Linked DNA regions of Homo sapiens: all the other regions are linked to region 3. The links are contacts of gene promoters, found by promoter capture Hi-C in blood cells and fetal thymus (Javierre and others, 2016). All regions are on one chromosome and are shown on one strand. The core of a region is centred on a gene start or on the middle of the fragment in contact, and the rest is flanking DNA. Distances in the headings are between cores, read along the strand shown. Region 1 overlaps STEAP2-AS1 (STEAP2 antisense RNA 1). Region 2 holds the start of STEAP2-AS1 (STEAP2 antisense RNA 1). Region 3 holds the start of PTTG1IP2 (PTTG1IP family member 2).

Evidence for each region. Contacts are between HindIII fragments. The CHiCAGO score rates a contact against its expected background, and 5 or more counts as called.
Region 1: a contact is called between a fragment that was not itself captured here and the fragment with the promoter of PTTG1IP2 in region 3, in 1 of 17 cell types (naive CD8 T cells). The highest score is 5.6, in naive CD8 T cells.
Region 2: the fragment with the promoter of STEAP2-AS1 here is called in contact with the fragment with the promoter of PTTG1IP2 in region 3 in 17 of 17 cell types (total CD4 T cells, total CD8 T cells, naive CD8 T cells and 14 more); the score reaches 39.9 in total CD4 T cells.

Annotation. Positions count from the first base shown.
Region 1 is chr7:90,177,334-90,181,311 of GRCh38, reverse strand. The region is part of intron 2 of STEAP2-AS1 (STEAP2 antisense RNA 1); the gene reads left to right. Among named protein-coding and RNA genes, the nearest start is that of STEAP1, 25 kb to the right of the region's middle. RefSeq lists enhancers at 579-1,080, 2,299-2,348, 2,359-2,418. The HindIII fragment of the contact is 1,055 bases long and covers 1,872-2,926 here.
Region 2 is chr7:90,210,347-90,214,532 of GRCh38, reverse strand. It overlaps STEAP2-AS1 (STEAP2 antisense RNA 1), which reads left to right and starts at 2,898. Exons shown (of 3, transcript NR_110029.2): 1 at 2,898-3,233. It overlaps STEAP2 (STEAP2 metalloreductase), which reads right to left and starts at 2,793. Exons shown (of 6, transcript NM_001244944.2): 1 at 2,488-2,793. RefSeq lists a silencer at 2,631-2,690. The HindIII fragment of the contact is 5,296 bases long and covers 1,509-4,186 here.
Region 3 is chr7:90,467,720-90,472,048 of GRCh38, reverse strand. It overlaps PTTG1IP2 (PTTG1IP family member 2), which reads right to left and starts at 2,410. Exons shown (of 7, transcript NM_001365443.2): 1 at 2,118-2,410. The coding sequence starts at 2,262. The HindIII fragment of the contact is 9,262 bases long and covers 1,836-4,329 here.

The DNA.
Region 1 (3,978 bases), core at 1,150-3,649, 290 kb after region 3:
AATATCCTTTAATTCCCTTTTTCCTCAATTTTCTTTCCTTTTTAAAAATTTATAATCTATTTCTTATTTCTGAAAAAAAACTTTTTCTTTAACATAATCGTGAAGCAAACAAGATACATCATTTGAAAAAACAAAACAGAAATGTAGAACAAGGAAGTTAGGCTAGATAAACACTAAGATTTCCTTTAGCTCATAAACTTAAATAATAAATCTTAGGCATTTTGTATTCAGCATCAATGAACTCCTTGAATAATAATGGAAAATATTTTTAATGATAAAATTATACAAACTATGTTTTTTGATGCTTTTTCATCCAATTGTAAAATTCTAAGAACATTTAAAAGGTATTTATGGGCTTGAAAAAACTGACATTCTTCTCTATTAAGTATCTTATTCATAAGAGGCCAAATCTTGATATTCAATAGAGTTTGTGCAACACAGCAAACAAGGAAGTGGAACAATGCAAAGAAAACAAATTCATCACTCCCCTGCCTCCCTTGCCCCACACCTTGGAGTCACTGAATACTTTTTCTTTGAAGTCTAGAAAAATCTCTTCTTGCATGATTTGATTGGTGCCTTCCCTAGATATTTTGCATTTACTTTCCCTGCATTCAGTTGAATATTTTCATGAAAAATAGAGCCTTGTTCAAAAACATTTGTTTTTGCAACTGTGAAAGATCTAGCAAAAGCACTGGTAATTTTAGTGATTTTCTAAAATCACACAGCAGAGTTTTTGTCATTGGAAATACACTACTGGAAATACAAAGTTTTCTTAAGTCATGTAGGAACATCAAAAGGACCAAGCTGATGCAATATTCACATAACAATTGTTTGATGAAAGCAAGGGAATTTCCAGTCAACCATTTCTAACCACACTTCACCTGGCTAACATTAGGGCTATTTGACTTTTTAATTCTATTTGCATTAAGAAAGGCAAGCCAAGAGAGAATCAAGAGTCAATTTGTTTCATAACTTTCCTTGCATGATGCTGTTCTTTTTCTCTGTTTCTCACTCTAGCTTCCCTCTTGTTGACAGTTCATCTCACATAGGCTGTTTATAATGGAGAAGAAATTATCTTTCAGGATAAAGGCAGAATGCCAAAGTGGGTGGCAAACTTTTGGCAGTATTCTGGGTTTTCTTAAACACAATGCACATTCTTTTTCCTTTATCCCCTTAGAAGCGAAAAATGAAACTCACCAACTTTTATGGAACAAATTTAGTTCAGCCTTCAGCTGACCTAGTGTTCTTTTTTTCTGTAGTTACCTCATGTAGAAGATTCTTGAGCATTCTTGTGTAAGATTATTAAAAAATATATTTTGCTCCTTTTTTTTTGGTATGACTTTGCAGTATACCAGTGTAACTTAACAATAAAATTCCTCTTTTCATGTCACAAGTTTGGTTGCCCTAGTTTAAAATTATATGTTGAATTATGAAAATCAAGCATTTATTTACCAAGGAGAAAAGAGAATTCTACTTTGGAATTGTTTATATAGGCTTAGTGTAATTTCCCACTCATATTTTTTTCCTAACAAGTGGTCTGGAAAGCCATTCCTCCTCTACTAGTGATATTATACAAATGTAAAGAAAATCTGAAATCATTTTTATTTTCACTGACTTCTCATGAATGAATCCCAATTTCTGTATTATTTGCTGAAAAGAATGAAAAGATTGATTTTGTCAAAATGCACTACTGTGAGGAAAGAAACGTGGTTTGCGATTGAATAATAGAGTAAAATACTGGCCTATATTAAAATAGTTGGCCTTAAAGAAAATTCGGAGAGACTAGATTTGGATTGTACATATAAAAACAATATGTTATTTCTCTAGCCTATGTAATATAGATTTAGAAAACTAGTTAAGTATAGAAAGCTTAGGCAATAATGGGCTATTTTGTAGTTGCATTTCAAGTTTTTGAAACAATTTTCATTAAGTTTCACATTAGATTTGCTTTTTGTTAAGTTAAAAAATAAATCTCTAAAAGGAAGAAATGGTGGCTGTTCACTCAAAAGCATATCTCACTATCTTGACTAGTCCATGGGATTTTAATAGTTATTCTGGAAATACTTTTGAAGAGGAACTATCAATGAAGTTTTGCTTAATTGTTAGGGCTGGGTATCTAAAAACTGAAGTGAAACCCAGAGATGGGTCAGGAAGTCGTAGTGGTGACTAACAGAGGTGACTAATGGAGGTGTCAGATTGTTCATGGCCTTCTGTGCCACCAGAAAGAATTTTGCCATAAAGTATTTATGAGCAGTCATTGAACAATGCCTGGATGTGGGTTTTTAAGTGTCTCTTTTCCTAGCACTGTTACATACTCTATTCTTTTGGTAACCCGAAGCAGTCGCAGAACTTACTGAGCTGGTGAGCTCATTAGGCCAGGACTGAAGATTCTGCCAGGCGTGGGGAGATTTGCTTTGTTTTGCACCTTTGGACTCTTCTCCAAGCCTTCCAATGACACAGATGTACATACTTTATCACAAACAGGAGAAAACACGAGAGTATAGAAGGATTGGTGCTGAGCTGTCAGCATGACATGGTGGCACCAGTACTGGCTACAAAGTCAGGAGGCCTGCCTCCCAGCCCTTGTTCTGCCACCCACAAGCTCATGACTCTGGAAAAGTCTCCGTATGCTGGCTTCATTGTCAGTTATCAGGGAGACTTCATAGGGGTTTATAATTTGAAATGATGCTAGTTAGCATTTACAGATATTATATTGGATTACAGATATTAGATTATAGATTATATTACAGATATTGGATTATAGATGTGTAGACATTAGAATGTCTTCGTATAAATGCTGCTTCTTATGAGAGACGGATGCTAGCTGGATTTTAGAGAAGCAGTTGGGTGATGATACATTGGCACCAGCCCATTTATAGCTGGGACCAGAATTATAATTGCCTCTTTCCCTTCAGAACATGAAGCTTTGTGAGAAAAATGATAATTTTAGTACACTTAGCTCACTATTGATGACATCCCTTCTAGCAATACCATCTACTGCCCAGCTTTTTCTAGAGCCAAATCTTAGCAATGTGCATAATCACCTACTTTGTCTCCTCAATTATTTGGAATCAGATTCTTCTTTCCAAAGAAAAAAGTCTGTTTCTTCCTTATGGAAGTTTTTGGGATTTTTCTCTTTATCCTTGGTGGCCTGAAGTTCCATCAAGCTTGCAAAGGCGTGCATTCCTCCCCTCCCTCCTCAGCCCCTTCATCTTACAGAGGTTTTGCTCTGAAGTCTAGTGTCTTTCTCTAGCTCCAAGAAATTTCCCTCCATTATTTATTTGTTTTCTTATTTTATTGCTTCTATTGCATCCTTCTGAAACTTACACAATGGGTATTTGAGATCATTTGGGTCTCTTTTCATGCCCCTTAACTCTTCTTTAAAGTTTTCCATTTTATGAATTTTTTCTTTTGAACTGTGTTCTGGGAGAATCCCTCAGTTTAGACGTTTAGTTCTGTAAATTAATCTTCAGCTATATCTATTTTGGAAATTAGTTTCCCTATTAATATGTAAAGTTTTCTCCTTTTTGGATCCTGGGTGTAAATAGTTAATCACACCATCTTAATTCATAGCACAGTTTTATAATTTGCCCATGTGTCTTGTTTCATTCATTCATTCATTTTTAATTTGTATAAATTTAGGGAATACAAGTTCGTTTTCTTAAATGGTTATATTACATAAAGGTAAAGTTTGGGCTTTTAGTGTAACCACTACCCAAATAACGTACATTGTACCTACTGAGTAATTTCTCATCCTTTACTCCCCTCCTACCCCTCTGAATCTTTTGAGGCCTTAGTCATGAATTCTTTGTCTAGGCCAATGTCCAGAAGAGTTTTTCCTAGGTGTTCTTCTAGGATTTTTTTAGTTTTGGGTCTTAAATTTAAGTCTTTAATCTATCTTGGGTTAATTTTTGTATATGGTGAGAGATAGGGGACCAGTTTCATTCTTCTACATTTGTCAACTTGGTTAAAGATGAG
Region 2 (4,186 bases), core at 1,649-4,148, 260 kb after region 3:
AGAAAAACCAGAAAACTGAGCTCATTAGTTTCACCTTAAATTAACAATCACCAATTTTACCTATCAAAGACCAGTCTATCCACTTATGTCCTGGAGAGCCTCCCTTTTTGCTTCCCAAGGGGATATGGTTATGACCTCTTTCTGTGACATCTCAAACTTCACAGGTTCAAACCTGAACTTTTTCCACCCAGAGCTGGTCCCATTCGCCTGGAAATGTGTAAATGCCACCATTATCCACCAGTTGCTCCAATCAGAAAATTGGGAGTCATTCTTAAGTCCTTGCTGACCCTCACTTTTGACATAAAATCCTGCACCAATTCCTGTTCTCCAACATATTTCATAAATCCCTCTCCACCAATACCAGGCTAGTCCAGGTGTCTATCATCTCACCTGAACTCTGCAAACATTTCCTAATGGGTCAGCCTACTTTCTCTTTTGACCCTTTCCAAACATCTCCACAGCAGCTAAAATCATCTTAAAATGTAAATCGTCATAAAATGTCTCTCCTTAAAATCGGTGCTCCTTGTACTTAGAACTACAGCCATCTTCCTGACTATCACGTAAAAGGTCCTGAATGAGTTAGTCCCCGCTTCCCCTCTCTAACCTTATCTGTATATTGTCCACCCACAGCATTCTCTTCTAGAAAGAGAAAACAACAACCACTTTATGTACCTTGGGAGCTTTCCATATACTGTTCCATCTCTATAGCAGAATAATTCACTCAGCCCTTGTTAAATTTATTTTGTAATATTTTATATAATTGTTTCTTTACTGTTTACTATTTCCCCCATTGGACAATAAACTGCACGAGGGAAGAACCATGTTTGTCTTGTCCGTGATCACTGCCTCCACATTGGCTGGCAGTGTAACTAAGGATGCAATAAAAATTCTTTGTTATGGAATACATCAAAAAAATTCAGGACAAAAAGACATGTAATAATTCTCTAGATCAGATTTCTCTTTTTGCTGAAAACACATGTGGGCCCTTAAGGGGTAGGTGATTTATCAATGTTATTGTTATGTTAATGTCTCAGTTACCTCAATGTCCTGGTTTCTGGCCCAGCAGGGATAAATACATCTCCTGATGTCCTATGTCCTTTATCACGCCTGCAGTCTTACTCTTTCACATTTTTGGTGTATCTTCTTTCTCACTTTTCTAACTCATTTACAATCCTTTCTTTAAAAATTTGTCTTCACCTGTCCTGTTTTTTCAGTACTAAAATACAACTATGTTCATTCACCACATTTTCCATAGCACCAGTACAATAAAAAGTGACTTGGATAAAGCTTTTCATTTCCTTACTGCACAATTTGCTCAAGTTGTCATTCTCAATATTGTCTCATTTCCCCATACCCTGACAGAGTGACTAGCTAAGAGGCAGAGAGTGCAGCCATCCCAATGGCAGCACACATAGTTACTCTTTATGTTTCTAAACATCCTGCAAATTATTTAGGACGGGTGTTTTGTTTTGTTTTGTTTTGCTTTTCCATTAAATAGCCTCTAAGCTTTGAAGCAACCAAGAGAGAATCGGAGTAAAAAAATTATAGGGTTAAAGAAAGAAAAAATAAACAGATCAATAAAATGAAGAAATAATAAAGTGGAGAAAAGGAAGGATGGGGAGGTGGTTTAGAAAACAAAAAGGGTTCCAAGCAGCGGGGCTGTTAAAAGGACCAGAATCTAAGTCAGGAGGTTGGGGGTGGGGGTGGGGGTGGGGCAGGAGTCTGAATTCTTTTTCTCCTATACTGATGAGCGATAATTAACTATGGCCTGGACTGTCTTTCCATCTAAAAAACTAACTGCCCGAGGAGTAAAAACTGACACCAATCCTTCTCCACGGGGTGGGAGAGATAATAAATGGAAATCTTCCAACAAAAATGCTCTTTATCTCTCTGCTCTATTTTAAGAGCAAGATTTTTAGGGCATAATTTTCAACAAGTTTTGGCTGAGGCTGAACACAGGGTTCAAAGATAATTTAGGACAGTCAAAGAAGAGGCCAATTACTTTCTAACAGAAATGGCCTAAACACCACGATTACATTACTGGGAAATAAACCAAATGACTGCTAGAAATACCTGTTCGCAAAGCAGCACTGCATGATCTTCCATGAAATGCCCTGCATCAACCCAAAGTAGCAGGGAGACTATCAAGGGGGCGAAAGTAACCTGCCTGTCCTTTCCTGCTGGGACACATCCTACCTGGGACAATGTCTCCTTGCCTTCTTTCTCCTGGGCCCAACCTCAGGACTTGCCCTTAGCTCTAGGAACCAAGAGGAGGAGGAGGGGGAATCAGTGGAACAGACACCCTTCTCCACCCTTCTCACTTTCCACCTTAAGGTGCCAGGAGATGAGGGACCCCGCAGCTCAGGGCGGACGCCCGGTGAGGGCGCAGAATCGGGGAGGATGGATGCAGCGCGTGGCGCAGACTGCATCTTGACCCTCAACTCCGCCGCCGCTACCTTCTTTCGCGCTCCTCCCCGACCCGCTCACCTCCGCGCCCCCCGCGCCCTCCACGCCGGGCAGGGGCGAGCCTTGCAGCTCCCCGGGAGCGGCGCCGACTCCCCAAGGGCCCACCCGGGGGCCAGGGCCTACGGACTGCACCTCCGACTGGCGGTTGCAGGGTGGCTGCCGCGGCGGTCGCACTCCAGCTGCTTCCCCGCCTACCCAAGCTGGATCGCGAACAGCCAGGGGAGAAGGAAGGAGGGAGGCGCGCGGAGGCCGGCTTGGCAGCGACGCGCCGCTAGGGGCTGCGTGCCCGGACAGCTCGTGGCGCCGAGGGCCCGAGGAACGCTGACTGGAGTCGGGAAGAGCCGTGGAGCGCGGGGAGGAGTCGGGGAGCTCGGAGGGGGCGGGGGTGTGTGAAGGGAGCCGGGCTGTGTGGAGGGAGCTGGGAAGGGCCCAGAGCACCGAGGGGGAGCCAGCAGTGAGTGCACTGGGGAGCTCCACACACGCGGCTCCGCAGCTTTGCGCGCCCTTCTACCGCGAGCGGCTGAGTATCCGCCTGGCTCCCCTGCGGGGTTCCTCCGTGGTCTTCCGGAGATTCTTTCTGAAGCAGCTTTAGAATAGTCAAGCCTATTTTTCTACTCCATTTCTTTTTGTAATGTGGGGTCACCTTTCCGCTCTAGAAATTGCTTTTCTTACGCGATTCCCACCCCAACTCTCGCCAAGGGCCCTGGTTCTCATCTCCCCAGTCTTAGCTTCTGACAAGCCTCCAAGAAACTGCGCTTTTTTCTTTTGTAAGTGTTCTTTTGCCTCATGTTTACCCTATCCCAAACGTCTTTTGACTAGACTGTGTCCTTGGAATAAAATGTTCGGAAATGCCCTTTCATGAAAACTCCCTCGGATAGGAGGACCCTCACAGACCCTGGACTGCAGAGATTATTCTGTTGACTTTGACCTTCACTCTAGCTGGTGCCGCGCGAGCTTTGGTGTGGGGGAAAGGAAGGTTAGGCCGTGAGTCAGGAGACCTGTGTTCCTGCGAAAGCCATTTACCTTCTGGGGCCGCAATGGCTTTGAATGTTTCAGGGGATCCCCTGAGAGCACCTTTGGCTCTGGGTTTCTGTAAATTTTCTCCCTGCGGATTACCAAGTAAAAGTACCTTTTATCTTTTGTGTAGAAGGTGTCAGTAGAAGAAGCAAGAGATCTTTATTCCCAAATATAAAATCAACTTACCAAAAATTCTCAAATTTGGGGAAATTTTTTTCATACATTAGTAAAGTACCATTTCAACAAATTAAGTTTAAAAATTATCCCTCTAGGTGGTTTATTAACCAGACCAAAAAAACCCAACAACAACAACAACGAGAGGGGGGTCTTAGATCGATCACTGGGGCACTGCACTTTCCCCTTTGTAGTCCATACACAGATTAACCTTTGTAAATGCTGCTTTGGAAATACATCCTTTGTTTGACTTGAAATGTAACCCCTCCCCTACCGCCAAATATTATTAAGGTTTAAAGTTTAGGCAGAAGCTAAGGTTTTAACGATGTGTCAGGGTGTGGAACCATCGACAGCTGGTAGAATACTTTCCATTTTGGTTACTGGAAACAAGTCATTAAATCTAATATCAATTTTAATAATTTCACTTCAACAAAACTGTCAAATAATGAGATTCGTGGAGTTTTTTCTAGTAGTTCCTCTGGAGAACTTGTGGAGAAAATTCATGAATCTTAGCAGTTAACGGAAAGTA
Region 3 (4,329 bases), core at 1,161-3,660:
TAGACAAGGGGGAGAACTCAAATGAGGCTGTGCCAGGCTTTGTTAGAATATCTGACTCTGCTCTCTCTTTTGAGGTTTGTCATTTTCCAGTGCCAAGGTTTGCTAGAGCTTATCAGAGGTGTTTCCCATTTCCATGAAGGGGTATCTTTGGACTCTAGATCCACCCTCAAATCCAGCTTGTAACGCAGGAACCTGAGTTTCCTTCAGAGAGTCAGGCCCTCTCTCTTCAGGTCCTCATTCCACCTATTTCTCTGCAGTAGCCATTTCCTCTTCTCATCTTCGGAATAAGAAAAAGAATGGATACCCCCTCAACTTGTTTCTCTCCAGATTTGGGAGAATTAATAAAAATTATTGGATTATAGTAACTCACTAGTTACCTCTAAGGGAGAGTGGCAACATTTGGAGTCTTGCCATGCTGTGCTATTCTGTTCTGATCTAGAATCTTCCAGTTCTTTCCTTAGTTGCCACTTATTTTTTGCACTATGCCCCTTTGTTGTCTGGTTACTTTTAGTGAAGAAAATTCTCTAGGTTTCAGTATATTTTTTAATCCAGTCATTAGATTCTAGAAGATTAACCCAAAGTTGCATCAAGTGCTTTCTATAATTTCTTGAGATATTGATTACTAAGCTCTCAAATGTAAATGAACATCAGAGATAGAAGTCCTGGGGATCAAAACAACCTGCTTAGGGGGAGGTCTCACTTGATGTGCAATCCTTCACAAAGTCCTGTCTGTTGCCTGTCACTTAGGGCACAATCTGGGACATAGATGAGGATCTCGTGAAGGCTTAGAAGCCCCTTTTCAGTTTTGGAAGTGAAAAGTATCATGATGTCTAAGAAACCATATCCTTGTTAGATGGGAAGATTAAATGCAAGCACTAAGGGGAACTGGCCTGAGACTAAGATGCAAGCATTCAGGAGAGGCCCTTGGCAGGCAAGGTGTTTCCTTAGAAACATGGGCTCCAGTTGGCCAGCCCTAGAAGTGAGCTAGCTAGCAACAGAAACTTCCATCTTTGGAGATTATCTTAGATGTGATTTTTGATTTATTTTATTTGTTTTCTTTCTTTTTTCTTTTTTTTTTTTTTTTTGTTCTTCATCAGCATTTTGATAAAGTCTTAAGACGTGAAAAATTTCCGGTATGAGTCCAGTTTGCTAGGGAACAAAAGGAAGAATTTGTTTTTATGTTTGGGCCTATGCTTTCAGGTGCTGTTTGTTGGGAGAAGGGGCCAGGATGGCACTGGAACACTATTTCTCTTAGAGTATGTATAGAGGTGACCAAGAGGTTAAAAAAGAGAAATCTGTGGGAAAGATGAAACCAAAGAAAACAAGCTAGCTCTTTTAATTCAGCGTCGCCCCAACCCTACCCCCTCGAAGGAGATTCTTATTTCAGTGCAACGCTGAGAACTGTGGATTTGGTTTTAGTAAGGAAGACTGATTTGCTTACAGATACTAACATTCTTTTCTACTCTGGAAACCAGACAGCAGTAATTATTCTGTCTCATTGTCTTTGTAAAAATGGCAATCTTGGCTTTACAGGGCACTTTCCAAGTAATTCAAATTCTGTCTCTTATTTTGTCTATACGGTTCCAATTTAGGATACTTAAAACCTTATTTCCAGGTTCATGAATTTAACTCAGCATGACTTTTAACATTTCAAAATTTTTTCAATTTGGAAGGAAATCGAGAGAGGCCTCCAAACTGAAGTAATTTTTTTATGAAAAAGAACAAATAAAGCATTTTATTAACTAAGACCTTAAAAAACTTAAGAAAGAGGAACTATGACCATTGAGTGGGTCTGATTAGAACAAAACCCAATGGCTTATTCACAACAAAAAGCTTATATGTCATAGGTCATGCAGAAAGTGATGGGGGAGAAACCATGCTTTTCCTCAAATTTAAAACTTTGAATCTACCTTTCATATTTCAGATAAACCAAATTAATCTGAGTCCAATTTAACTGAGTTTCACCAAAACCATCTAGAACCTTTAAAATGTCTTCCCACCAACACCAAATGACAACTTTTGAGATGAAAATTCCAGTGCACCAGGATGGCACCATTAAAAGGAAAAAAAACGCTGGAGCATGTGGGGCACCCACCTCAGGACTCCAGATCACTCACCCTCTTCATTCCCATCTCTTGGTTTCTGATTGTTCCTGGGGCTGTGGATAAAACCATTCTCTGAGAAGCTGATAAGCAATTGGATGAGAAAGAGGGAGAGGAAAACTGGCAGGAGGATCTGGCCCCATGCCCGCAGCCAGCACATCTCTCTTCAGACCTGGTGACCCCAGCCACTGGGAACCTGGCAGGCACCAGCTACAGTGTTGGACACTGAGACCCGCCCAGAGACTGTGACCTACCACAGCCCTGGGTGCTGAAGCTGCCACTTGCAAGCCCTGGATGCCAGCATAATCAGCAGAACCTTAGAATCCCTAATGTTCTAGCCAGAATGTAGAATGTTCATAGTGCAATCCTCGTCGGCACTGGGTCCAGCTTCCTGGGCCCTGAATACCATGTACAGTTGGTCCACTGGACTTGACTGAGGTCTATTTCTCCCAAATCAACACTTTTCCCTACTACATTGTTGTTTTTTGGAGAAAGACCTGGATTCTAATTCTCACTACTTGAATATGTGTACAGAAGTTGCACTCTTCCATGCTGCCTTTTCTCTGATGTAAATGAACCTACCACCCACTGCACTCCATGGGAGTGGTTGTGCGATCAATGAGTGGTAAGGCCGTGAAACTCACAGCTCTGTAAACCCTTGGTCTTGTCCTTGACTAGCCTGGTGATCCTATTGACGTGCTCTAATGCAGTTTCCTAAAGGTAGGTATGTTTTGGGTAGTACATAAATGTCTTTTATTTTCATAGTTATGAATTTATTTTAATGCGTATTGGAAAAATATAACCAGTAGTTACAATGATGTAATAGCAACGATATATGCTTTTAAAATAAATCTGTGCAAAAAGGACAATTTTCAGAAATATAAATAGTACACAACTTAAAGGATATGGCAAAAATTGGGGAGGTGGTTCCAGAATGACTGAAATTTGAGCAATCTTGCCCCAGTATGTGTGGTTGGGGAGGGGTAGAGGTGGGTGATGAAAACTTGTCCTTGACCAGGAATTATCTTGTTTTGTTTTTCAAAAACGATCAGGTGGGAAGATCGCTTGAGCCAAGAAGTTCGAGGCTGCAGTGAGCTATGATCGCATCAGTGCACTCCAGTCTGGGCAACAAAGCAAGACCTTTTCTCTAAAAAAATTATTTAAAAAAATTTAAAAAACAAATGTTGCAGTTTTCCCATAGTATTCCTGGCATATTGATCTAGACTGCATCCTGAGGACTATGGGTCTAGTATGGACAATAAAGATGGAGGAGGAGAAGATGTGCAGAGTTCCAGGCTAATTTTTCTTCACCCATTTGCAATGCAGAGGACAGACAGAGGGTTATTAGCTATAATATAAAAAGTGCTTTTATAAATTGACAAAAAAAAGGACAAAAGATAAACAATAGGAAAACGGACAAGAGATGTGGAGAATCCATGGACAGAAAAGCAAATCCAAGTAGCCAATGAATATATGAAAAAAATAGTTTAGAAACACTAGTACTAGGAACTAGGAAATTATAAATTAAAACTAATAATGTAAACATCAGGTAGGCAAGCATTTAAAAAGAAAACTAAGATATCATTGGTGAAGTTGTGGGGGAAAAGGTACTATTATACTTTTTGGAGGAACTGTAAATTGTTACAGTGTCTTTAGAAAGCAAACTTGTTGCTTTCTAAAGCAGCCATTAAAATGAAAAATACATATATTCTATGTTCATATTGTTTCTTGGAGACCTGCCCCTCATTGCCTCTCAGTTCTCATGGTATGGGTGGAGTTCCAACTCCTACTTTGGAAGTAGGACATGAAAACTACACCTGAGCAAAGCAGGTCATAAAACTTCCCTGGCCACCATGCCTGGCTCAGGAGTGGGGCACATGACCTAGGTTGGTCTAATCCAAGTCAATCTCAGAGCTTTTGCTAGGAATGCTAGGATAAAGATGCTTGTCTTCCTCTGGATTCAAATTTGGAAGGACTTAGTCTCTGTAGCTGCTAAAAGCCATCATAAGTCTATGTGGGAGATGGGCACGTTGGCTCATGCCTATAATCCTAGTACTTTGGGAAGCTGAGGCAGGCAGATTGCTTGACTCCAGGAGTTCAAGACCAGCCTGGGCAACATTGTGAAACCCTGTCTCTACAAAAAACAAAACAAAACAAAACAAAACACAAAAAATTAACCAGCATGGTAGTGTGCACCAGCTACTCAGGAGGCTGAGGTGCAAGGATC